4 separate regions of the Homo sapiens genome follow, and all the other regions are linked to region 2. The links are contacts of gene promoters, found by promoter capture Hi-C in blood cells and fetal thymus (Javierre and others, 2016). All regions are on one chromosome and are shown on one strand. The core of a region is centred on a gene start or on the middle of the fragment in contact, and the rest is flanking DNA. Distances in the headings are between cores, read along the strand shown. Region 1 has its middle 310 kb from the start of PEX2. Region 2 holds the start of PEX2 (peroxisomal biogenesis factor 2). Region 3 has its middle 340 kb from the start of PEX2. Region 4 has its middle 390 kb from the start of PEX2.

Evidence for each region. Contacts are between HindIII fragments. The CHiCAGO score rates a contact against its expected background, and 5 or more counts as called.
Region 1: a fragment that was not itself captured here is called in contact with the fragment with the promoter of PEX2 in region 2 in 1 of 17 cell types (endothelial precursors); the score reaches 6.1 in endothelial precursors.
Region 3: a contact is called between a fragment that was not itself captured here and the fragment with the promoter of PEX2 in region 2, in 1 of 17 cell types (fetal thymus). The highest score is 8.8, in fetal thymus.
Region 4: a contact is called between a fragment that was not itself captured here and the fragment with the promoter of PEX2 in region 2, in 1 of 17 cell types (endothelial precursors). The highest score is 7.2, in endothelial precursors.

The regions. Positions count from the first base shown.
Region 1 is chr8:77,307,270-77,310,381 of GRCh38, reverse strand. No RefSeq gene overlaps it. Among named protein-coding and RNA genes, the nearest start is that of PEX2, 310 kb to the right of the region's middle. The HindIII fragment of the contact is 408 bases long and covers 1,107-1,514 here.
Region 2 is chr8:76,998,669-77,001,620 of GRCh38, reverse strand. It overlaps PEX2 (peroxisomal biogenesis factor 2), which reads left to right and starts at 1,543. Exons shown (of 4, transcript NM_000318.3): 1 at 1,543-1,631. RefSeq lists an enhancer at 1,254-1,548. The HindIII fragment of the contact is 1,935 bases long and covers 1-1,572 here.
Region 3 is chr8:77,339,282-77,342,422 of GRCh38, reverse strand. No RefSeq gene overlaps it. Among named protein-coding and RNA genes, the nearest start is that of PEX2, 340 kb to the right of the region's middle. The HindIII fragment of the contact is 199 bases long and covers 1,376-1,574 here.
Region 4 is chr8:77,390,356-77,393,273 of GRCh38, reverse strand. No RefSeq gene overlaps it. Among named protein-coding and RNA genes, the nearest start is that of PEX2, 390 kb to the right of the region's middle. The HindIII fragment of the contact is 2,267 bases long and covers 242-2,508 here.

The DNA of each region.
Region 1 (3,112 bases), core at 61-2,560, 310 kb before region 2:
TATTCATAGATTATAATATGTGAATGTAAATTGAAAACATTAGGTATCCCGAGCCTTCTAGGTAGTCTGTTATTAAACACTGAATCAACTGTATAGCTGAATGACCCACTGCAAATTTTTGGCTTTCAGTGGATGTTGTGGTAAATGGATTCTAAATTATCATTCCAAATTTTTAGAAACAAAAAAAAAGTATATTAAAAAATTCCAAACTGATGGCACTGCAAATGATTTAAAATTGACTTTTAAATAACTTATTTTTCTAACTTTTAATGAGTATTTTTTTATCTGTCTTATTTAATCAGTGCAAAACTTCTTCCATGTCTGGGCTAGTAAAGTTTGTGTACTAAGATTTTTGTGGAATGGAAGTGAGGCTTGCTCTGTGTTGCTGCCCCATCATTAAGTCATCTGGAGTGTGTTAAGACAAATGTATTATAATTTGTATCATTAGTACTGTTTAGTTATTATTTCTTTAGGCAACAAAAGAGCAGAAATAGTTACTTTTTATGGCTCAAATGCCAAATTATTTAATCTTTTAATGTTATTCGCAAAATGTGTAGCCTCGAATGGAAATTTTCACTAACTTTGTTAATGCAGGGAATTTTAACCACTTTTACTCATATACCAAACCCTACACAAAATAAGATGATGAATTAGGAAGGAAATCCTGTTAAGAGAATTACTATAAACATGAGGAAACTATTAGACCAGAGTTTTCAGTAGTCTAAAATTCTGAGATTTGATTTTTAAATGATGAAACGTCCAATAAGCCAAATGACTCTGCATAAACATGTACATGGAATAAATTATTCCAAATGAAAGCATGGATGTTATTTGTTCAGCTGTTTTAGTGGTTGGAACGTTAGGAACAAAAGCTATTATTGTTCGATGTATTTTTTCACAGGAAATAGACAGTGGCAAACATACAGTAGTTCAACACATGAGATCAGAGACATGGTTTTTATAGTAAACCAAGAACAGATGTTGGAACGATTCAAGACCTTTACAGAAATTATTAGTTATGTTTGCCTTTGAAAGCAAAGAAAGTTTACAGAGAGTCACATATCTGATTATATTAAGAAACAGATAGGTTTTCAAATCCAAAAGCTTTAATTCATTCAAGCTAAAAGTTTCTGCTGCATAAATTCTGAATGTGCTACTCAACACTATTGCAAATAATTACCATAGGTTCCATGTTACCCTACTGCTTTCAAAAGCATGCTTATTTTTGAAAGATATAAAAACTACTGATTCCTCATATGCAATCCAAGTAGCCCTATTCAGCAAAAAATCACATAGAAATAGGACTTACGCCTCAGACAAAAATCACGATTTAGTTAGAATCACTGAAATCAATTGATTCACAGACATTAAGAAAATGAAATTCTGCAGGTAACTGGAAGACGTATTTTTTAAGGTTGAACTAAAAGCCAACAAGTCACCTTTTTCCTATTTATGAAAGGCCTGTATGAAATATTTTGATGGCATCAGGATCTCTAAGTTATTGACTCTAAGCTTTTCATTGGTCCTCCCCTGCTTCAGGATCTCAGTGTCGTTTTACTCAGTTTATATTCCATGGAGCATCATTATAATCCCTCCTTAGGAGGCATTATCAGTTTTTTTATTTTCAAATTTATTTATTTATTTTTATTTTAAATAGATAATATTGTTTGTGTTTATTGTGATGTTTTGAGGTATATACACATTGCAGAATAGTTAAACTGAGCTAATTAAAATATGCATGACCTCACATAGTTATCACTTTTGCAGTGAGAACAGTTAACATCCACTTAGAATTTTTCAATAATACAATATATCCTCGTTAACTATAGTCACCATGCTGTACAATACATATTGTGAATTTAATCCTCCTGTCTGATTGTAATTTTGTATCTTTTGACCAACATCTCCCCAACATCCCCAGCCTCTGGTAACCACCATTCCACTCTGCTTTTATGAGACTGACTTCTTAAATTTCCACATCAACCAGATCATGCAGTATTTGTCTTTCTGTGGCTGACTTTTTTCACTTACTGTAATGTTCTCAGTTTCTGTCCTCCTCCCTGCCCACTTCTTGGGCAAAGTCACACCTAGATTAACACCTGGTCAAATCTAATTCAGTTCCTACTTGAACATACTCCTATATCTCTAATTGTGATAGGAGAAAAAGTCCAACTGTGCTGATTAACGTTATTTTAAGTGCATGACCTCCAATTTCAGATGGAAACTTGGTACTATGTAGCCGTCATTTTCTTAACTGGTTCATTCTCTCAAGGGCTATTTCATATTGTCTTCTCTCTAGTCAGACTTCCAGAGACCCTACCCCATCAACACACAGACACTTACACTTTTAGTTGATGACCTTGCTTTAAGCTTCACTGAGAAAATGAAACCAATCAGTAGAGGCTTTACAAAAACCTCCACCACCAACTATACCCACCAACCTGCATCTCTACCTACATATGCTACCTTCCTTCCTATCATAAGAAGGTACATTGTCTTTCCTCTTAGATAAAGCTAACCTCTCAACTTCTGCCCTGTATACTATCTCCTCTACTTCACACACTTTTGAGTTTTGCTCTTTGCATGTTTCTCCCTTCTGTATAAATGTCTTGGGTGGTTCCCATCATCATATTCGTACTGAAATCTCTCCCATCTTAAAAACAAATTAATTAACTAATTAAAATTTAGAAACCCACCTCCCTTCACCTTATATTATAGTCCAGCTGCTTCTCCAATTTACAGCAATATTCCCATTTACATCAACACTCACAAGTACTGTCTACTTTATGATGAAGAAAATATACCTTGGTAAAGTTTTTAAACAATAAAACAATTGCCTAAACTTGCTGTCTACACATTGATTTCATCCCACTGAATTCTACCTCTCTGCTGAACTCCTCTTGTTAGTCACCAAGATCTCCATATAGCTAAATCCAATGGGCACTTTTCAGCAATTTTAAAATTGTGTCAGCATACCGTTTCCTCTTCTTTAAAACACTTTTGTAATTTTTGTCAAAAGTACACCATTCTCTTTTTGATTCTCCTTCTACCTTGCTGGAAACTCCTTCATAGTCTGTTGTGGATTCCTTCCTGCTCATCTTCTCTTTCTCTA
Region 2 (2,952 bases), core at 294-2,793:
GTTTTCTTCACAGTTGCTAAACGAAAGGCCTACTCTTCTTCAGTGAGATTTTTTTACTCTCTAGAACAGCAGTATCCATAGAAATATAATGGAAGCCACGTAATTTAAAATTTTCCAAAACATTCTCATTTTGACATGTAAGCAATATAAAATTAATGAAATACTTTACATTCTTTTTCTTTTCAGACCACGCTTTAGAAATCTGGTGCATGTTCTACACTTAGAGCAGACCTCAGTTCAGACTAGCCACTTTTCAGGTGGCCAGTGACTACTACACTGGACAGTTGCAGCTCTAGAAAATCCACTCCCAAACCCCTAAGTGAACTACATACTCTATCAATTTGTAGCTTCTACTCTATCTCATTTGTACCATTGTTTCACAATTTGGATAGCATTAGAGTTAATAAATTTTATTTTAGCAACTCTGCTCCATGGGTAGTTTCTGAAATAAAAATACAAGCAAAAAAAAAAAAACTTTCCTAATAACACTGGTTCTACAGTATAAGCTCTCCCTCGAATGTCTAATAGAGCTTTCGTAGAAGTGAGTGTTCCTTGTAGGAACGGTGAGTCGAGACTGGAGGTAAGAACTAAGACGTTCTTAAACCCTACTACGTGCTGGAATCCTGAAGTGCCTGCCATCATTCAAACTTAAGCACTAACTCTCTAGAGAGACACTGCCATTCATACCACAGAACGAGAAGGCAGTGGCGATCCTCAACGGCTACATGTCACTGCCTGGTGAGCACTCTTCCCTCAGACCCCATTCCCAGAAGCTCTGCCTCGATTCCCCAGGGGTAGGCGAGCTGGCTGCCCGAATTCCTAAGCGTTACCGGGGAGATGTGAGGGCCTCCGGGGGCGGGAAACCTCAGGCCAGGCGCGCGCTGGCCCGCTCTACGGGGTCTCTCGGGAGCGCTTTGCAGGGCGGATGACTGACGGGCCAGCTACCTGCCTTCCTGAGCCTGCAGAGATAAACAGCCTATCCTCCCTGTGCACACAGGCCCCGAGGGCGGGCAGGTCTCCAAGCGCAGCACAACTGCCCCAGGCCCGACGCAGCCACCTGCCCGAGGGCTCCCTCCCCACCAGGCCATCCCTCAGCCGGTCCTCCTCCGACAGCGAACAAGGAACCCCGGAGGCGCGGAGGCGTCTCGCCGCCACCCGGCGGCGCCTGCCAGAGGCCCTTCGCGATGTCCGCAAGCAGAGAAAGCCCTGCCCTCCCAAGCCCCGGCTTCCCCTAGGCCCCTCGACACTTGTAGTGTCCTCACTTGCGGCCCCTGACCCGGGGCTGACCGGTTCGTGACTCTCCTGCCAATCAGAGACAGAGTTCTTCCGGCCAACCGGCCAATCACCGCGCGCGGGTGTCCGCTTCGGCTTTTCGGCCCTTCGGCTCTTCGGCTTGTCGGCGTTCGCGGTTGTTTGGCCATCCAGTGCCTTCAGCAGCGCCGCTAAAGCGCAGTTCTCGTTGGTGTAACTTTTTCTTTTTTTTTTCAGCCACTTCCGGCTCCTGCGTCGCTCCGGAAGCCTGCGAGTTCCGGAAGCCTTGGTAATCCAGATTCGGCTAGGAAAAGACAAGCTTTCCAGAGAATGTTTCAGAGAAAGTTACGTGGAGCGTGGGCGTTTCGCAGACTCCTAAGGTCAGTGTCTGCCCTAGAGAGCCGGAGTGCAAACCCGAGGTCTTGTTTTCAGCTGGGAGGTCGTGGAGTTTCACGACCTTGTAATTGTCGCCGTTTGCTTTTTTTTCCCTGTTTATTGGCTTCCTGTCTCCCTGGAAAAGGCAAATCAAAGCTGCTGAATTTTGGGAAAGGCAGTGAAGCAAACCTAAACTCCTAAAGATGTTTTTAGGATCGCGGCATTAAAAATAAACACACACACAGCTGCAGTTGAGCCCCTCTGCATTCCACGTAGTAACTTAAGAGACGAACTTCGAAATCTTTTTCTCTCATTTGGCGGTCGTGAAGATATTTACCTCTTATAAACGGCTTTATAAAGAATTGAGGATCCAAACTTTACTTAATATCTGAAAGTTCATGTAAAGTGTTATATGTAGTACAAAAAATTTGAGTGCTTAGTTTTCTAACACTGTTGAAAGCGCACGTAAATGCAGTTTGGTTTTCTTATGGAGGAAGAGATAATGAAAAGTTTCTGATAAAATTGCTTGCGATAAATTAGTTATATTTCACGTTGACTTTTGATAAGAAATCTGAATGTGAGAATTGTTAACATTTTTTCCTGGGTTCTTAAATTAAAAATCGTTGTTTGTTTATTTATTGAGGTACCATTTTCCAAATTTCCCACATTTAGTGAAAGGGCTTTTGGCAAAATGAGCAAGCTGTTGAACGTTCAAGTCTAACACATTCTGTTAAACTTCCGTGATGCCCCTCGGAAATATTTTATCTTGACGTTTCGGACAATTAAATGATACTTGGGCGCTCACAACACCGCAGCTTGTAGTCTAAACACCTTCCCCTAAAGTGTTACCTTTACTTAATCCTGAACAGAATGAACTTGGGGTGGCTCTTTTAACTTATCTGATCTCACCTATATTATCAATTACTTGTTTCCAGAAAGATTACAGTTGAGTGATCTTGAGCCAGAAAGAGATTTGAAAGAATTATTTACAGAGTCAAAAAAAAAAACCCTTCATATTTTTTTCTTAAAAAAAAAAATAGAAGTAACAGGACATAGAGCGAATACTAGACTAGTAGACTGAAGAGTATTAGACTAAATCAAGACAGTTGGATTCTAGTCCTGACTCTAGTTGCCTTTGTACAATTTTACCTCTTGGCCGTATTCTCCTTATTTTTAGAAACTAGTGTTAGTACTCAAGCTGGGGTTTTAAAACTGTTCCATAGGAGAACTTGTGTAGAAATTTTCTGGAGCCGTGCAGGGAGAGACAAAGCAAGCCCACCCTCAGGTTTATTTTAACAAGAGCAGCCATTTAGGTGTTCCGCTTGA
Region 3 (3,141 bases), core at 226-2,725, 340 kb before region 2:
GCAGAAATTCTAAATTATGTTATTCTAAAAATCTTATCTTTCTGGTATTTGTTATGACAACAGACTTGACCTTAGATTAACCATCCTGTTATAACAAATTATTTCAGCACCTACTTTGTGCCACACACTATTTAAGGTGTGTGATTACTTTGGGAAGTAATATAAAGTATCTGCCCTGTGTGAGGAAATGTAATGTCGTAGTTACAGACACAGGTTCTGGAGAAAGATTTTTTGGCTCCAAAATCTAAGTTTGCTACTCATAAACCTTATGTTACTTATTTAGCAATTTTAATTTTCAGTTTTCATAGCCACAAAGTGATACTTTCTTCTTCTTGCTATAAAATGGATTAAAAGAAATAATATAGGCAAAATAGCACATTGTTTGACATATACAAGATACTCAATAGTATGTAGAAAAAAATTCTCACTTACTCACCAATGGTGTATTTTAGTCTAACCAGGTCTAACATTTATATTCATTCAAGAATAGACCTAAAACAGGGAAAATGACATCCATAGTTCCATAAAGAATGAATTGCAAATTTCTAAAATAAGTTCCCTCTGTAATTAATAGGCCAAATTTATTTGTATGCAATAATCAGAATATAAGAACTATAGTCATCGGGAACTAAATCAGTGAAGACTTATAATCAAAAATAGTTCACTGAAAATCACTAAAAACTGTTTTCAAGGATGTGAAGAAGAAAAGCCCCAAAAGGCCATATAATCTTCACATATGTTTATCAAACTTTGAACTATATGTTATTTATTTATTTATTCTATGTATATCTATTTATTGCCTACTAGGCAGTAGACACTCTCTCAGACAGTGGACATGCAAAGGTAAACATGTACAAAATAAAGGGGTGTAAAATTTTTGCAATATTAAATCTTGCTATGGGTAATTTTCCACAATAATTTTATTTCCCCAATAATTAACTATATATTTATTCATAAAACATATTTTTAAATGATGGAAAAATTAAATACATTATTCAGAAAGGGTGTTCTAAAATAAATAATTCTGTGTTTATAATTACATATCAGAAACTATATAAATTCATTGTCTTATATGTATTGCGAATATTCTGTGTATACACTTAATCTCTGCAAATGAGTGAAAAAAACTGACTTATACCTTATTATTATTGAGTCTAGCTTTACGTTTATCAGTTGACTCTATATGCTTCATAAGAAATAAAGTAATCAAATTTTAGGTCAGACCTTCATGGATAGTAAACATTGCCATGAATATAAACTAAGGCCATTCAGGGACTACGTCATTGATGATTGGGTTGTCTTGAAAAGGTAATACACTTTGAACTCTGCACTCTGAATACAGTTAACTTATTTAAGAGGTTCCATCCCAAAAGCTTTGTAATATAACAACTTTTAAAGAAATTCAGAAAAATTTGTACAAAGGCACAAAGGAGAAAAAAAGAGGGGTAGATTACACATCCATAGCAATGTATTTGATTGCTTAGACAGGGAAGAAGTAAATAAAACCTAAAACTATAAAATCCCTGGAAGATAACCTAGGAAATACCATTCTGAACACAGGCCTCTGCAAAGCTTTCATGATACAGATGCCAAAAGCAATTGCAGAAATAATAAAAAATTGGCAAATGGGACCTAATAAAACTAAAGACCTTCTGCACAGCAAGAGAAACTACCAACAGAGTAAACAGACAACTTACAGAACAGGAGAAAATATTTACAAACTATGCATCCGACAAAGTTCTAATATCCAGACTCTGTAAAAAGTGCCTGTGGCTTATCCAAGTGCACAGTGCAAGTTGTCAATGGGGTCTGGAGGAAATTTCTGGGGTCTAGAGGATAGTGGTCCTCTTCTCACAACTCTAAGAGGCGGTGCCCCAGTGGGGACTCTGTGTGGGGTCTCCAACCACATATTTCCCCTCCAAACTGCCCTAGTAGAGGTTCTCCATGAGGGCTCTGCCCCTGCAGCAGACTTCCACCTGGACACTCAGGTGTTTCCATATATCCTCTGAAATCTAGTCAGAGGCTCCCAAGCCTCAACTCTTGCCATCTGTGCACCCACAGGCTTAACACCACATGAAATTGCCAAGGCTTATGTTTCGCACCCTCTGGAGCAGCAGCCTGAGACGTATCTGGGGCCCTTTTAGCTACAGCTGCAGCTAGAGCACCTGGTACACAGTGAGCAGTATTCTGAGATTTCATAGGGCAGTGGGTCCTGGGGCCCACTCCATGAAACCATTCTTTCCTCCTATGCCTCTGGGCTTGTGATGGGAGGGGCTGATGTAAATGTCTCTAAAACACCTTCAAGGCATTTTTCCAATTGTCTTGGCTATTAACATCGGCTCCTCTTTACTTATGCAGATTTCTATAGCCAGTTTGAATTCCTCCCCAGAAAATGGGTTTTTCTTTTCTACCACATGGTCAGGCTGCAAATTTTTCTGTCTTTAATGCTCTGCTTCCCTTTTAAATGTAAGTTTCAGTTTCAGATCATCTCTTCTCATTCATATGAACATATGCTGTTAGAAGCAGCCAGGTCATATCTTGAAGGCTTTGCTGCTTGGAAATTTCTTCCATTAGATACCCTAAATTATCTCTCTCAAATTCAAAGTTCCTCAGATCTATAGGACAGAGGCACAATACCTCCAACCTCTTTGCTAACTCACAACAAAGTTGACCTTTGTTCCAGTTCCAGTAAGTTCCTCATTTCCATCTGAGACCACCTCAGCCTGTACTTCAACGTCCATCACTATCAGCATTTAGTTAAATGTTTAGTCGAATGGTCACAACCATTCAACAAGTCTCTAAGAAGTTCCAAATATTCCCTCATCTTCCTGTCTTCTTTTGAGCCCTGCAAACTGTTCCAACCTCTGCCTGTTACCCAGTTCCAAAATTGCTTCCACATTTTGTGGTATTTTTATAGCAATGCTCCACTCCTTGGTACCAATTTTCTGTATTAGCCTGTTCTTGCATTGCTATGAAGAACTACCAGAGACTTGGTAATTTATGAAGTAAAGAGATTTAATTGGCTCACATTTCCACAGGCTGTACAGGAAGCATGGCTGGGGAGGACTCAGGAGTCTTACAGTCATGGCTGGAGGTAAAGGGTAAGGAGGTACATCTTACATGCCTGGAGGAGGAGAAAGA
Region 4 (2,918 bases), core at 126-2,625, 390 kb before region 2:
CAATAAAAATTATATACTTTTAAAAGTAGATATATATATATATACACACATGCATACATATATATATATACTTTGCAGTAAACCACATAGTTGGAACATATGTATCATCATCGTCCTCTCTGTGAACTCCTACCAAGATATGAGCTTTATGTAGACAAGGACATTGCCCTATTTATCCATCTGTGTGTTACTAGCATCTTGTTCAGAGTCCTATAGGTAGCACTTTCTATACAGTAAAGCTTTAGTGAACTGCATTGAGTAGATGTTGCTAATTTCACCTGTCAGATATGTGTCATTTTCCTTACTAGGAAAAATGTGCCATTTGCTTTGCCTCTGAAATACAAAGTAAATAAGGAAGGATTTACACTTACAGTTTTGGCAGATTTATCTTCGAGCCATCTACAGGCATAATTGGATAAATACTACAATTTTATTTAGTTTTAATTTATATCTAAACGAAACTTGATAGCATTTCTATAACCAACACTTACAGTATATATTGAATTTAGAGACAAACAACAAGAGAGATGAAGTCAAAAAATTTATGGTAAAATAGATATTCCTCAATAATTCAGAAAAAGATGTGCAAAGTAATGTTTCCAGCTCCCTTTCCTTTTCAACAGCTATGTGATTTTTGAATAGATATGTTTCCCCATTTTCTCACAATCTCAAGGGTGTAGCTGATCTTTCTGACTACAAAGTTTCTTAGCAGCTGTAAAGACCCTTTCAGGCTGTGTTATGTGATGTTCTAGATGAACAAGTTCCACTTTGTGGTTATGTTTGGTAGCTATTACATCCAAATGCAATGACTGCAAGGTGTCTTCTAGCTTTTTCAATTGCAAGAACAGCTTTCTCCCTCATGTATGCATCAGATATTAGCTGTTTTGGCTTTTTTCTTCTTCTGTGCTCTCTTCACATTCTTATAATTTTATCAGTTTGTACTGCATTTAAGGTCATGGCTAAAATAAGAAATTAATGTGCATGATACCAGATATATTCCATTCATTACATTATCTAAACATTATAGACCCACTTAGAATAAATAAACAAGCATGTCTTTCTCGTAGTACGCTTAATGTAAATGTGGAAACTGAGGGATATCAAAGTGAAACCAATTATCTCAGCCTGGGGTAATTTTACATATGCTGTTTTTACATCTTAGAAAATCAAGGAACTATCATATTCTTGCAACAAACCTAAAAGGAGGAGGACTTCCACACACTTGTTTCATATAACCAAGGCATTTCTTTCTTTCTTTCTTTCTTTTTTCTTTTGAGACAGGATCTCTCTCTGTTACCGAGGCTGGAAGTACAGCAGCGTGATCACAGCTCGCTACAACCTTGCCCTCCTGGGATCAAGTAATCCTACCAGCTTAGCCTCCTGAGTGGCTGGGACTACAGATGCATGCCACTTCCCTCGCTAAGTTTTTAATTTTTTGTAGAAATGGAGTCTCACTACATTGCCCAGGTTGACCTCAAACTCCTGGGCTCCAGTGATCCTCCTGCCTCAGCCTCCCAGACTGCTGGGATTATAGGTATGAGCCACCATGCCCAGCCTAAGCAAGAAATTTCTTCAGGTAAGAATTACTCCAGTGTGCTTAAGTAATTTAATTTCTTATTTTTATAATAAACTACCTGCTAGTTAATTAAATTAAAAAATCCTATTGCATTATACAAAATCACTTAATATGAATGATTTTATTTTTACCCCTAATGTAAGCTAACATTACTATCTCATTTTATGAACAAACTAAACTTTCAATCCTTCACTGTTTCTACTATCTCATGCTATTGCTTTTTAGCATTGTTATGGAAAGATTTGAGTTTTATGGTACACATTACTAGGTTAATAAACTAACATTTAAATTAAAAGTTTGAATTTATATTACAATAATCATAATATATATGATGACAGTGGTAATATTATACTCAATGTGAATCACACATTAGAACAAACTATGTCACTTAGTCCATTTTCTGTTGCTAAGAAAATGGACTAAGGTTCAACATCACAAATCAAAAAATCTAAAATTCAAAAGTTTTTGTGTGCAAATATGAAGCTCAAAGGAATAATTCCCGGAGCATTTTGGATTGCAGATTTTCAGATTTGGGCTGCTCAACTAGTAAGTATAATACAAAATTCTTAAATCAAAAAAAAATTCAATCATTTCAGACAAGGAATATTCAACCTGTATCATATACTGGATAATTTATAAATAAAAGAAATTTACGTAGCTCACAGTTCTGGAGGCTCGGAAGCCCAAGAGAATGGCACCAGCATCTGATGAGGGGCTTCTGTCAGCATCATAACATGGCAAAGGACATCACATGTCAAGAGGGCAAGAGCATGCGTGTCATTTCAGGTCTTTCTTCCTTATCTTACAAAGTCACTAATCCCCTCCCAAAGGCCCCACCTCCAAGCAACATATGAATTCGTGGACTGTTTCCAACACAAGAAATTTGGGGAACACTTTCAAACATATATCTAAATGAAACTATCTCTTAAGCTTTAGCATCGTGATTTGAACTCTTTATTGTTCTCAAGTCCACTTATTTTGAGTGAAAATCACAATATTTAGCAATGTGAAATGAGTCTCTCTCTCTCTCTCTCTCTCTTTTCTCTTTCCCTTTCTCTTTCTCTTTCTTGGTGTCGTATTTTTTCTGTTCCATCCAGAGAAGCCAATTACGCACAGTGAAGGATTTCCTCAGTACCAGAAATGCAATTATTATCAAATACTAGATAACATCATTAGTTACTAATGATTAATTAGACCATATTCTGTTGGAGTTGTTATAGAGTCGAGATAAGTAGAAGTGGAAATGTCCTCAATAGCAGAGAAAAATTCAAAGAGACCTGAAGAATTGGCACTACTACATTGTGAGCCATCAGCCTTGTGTATCAAAAAGTAGAATCAGGTA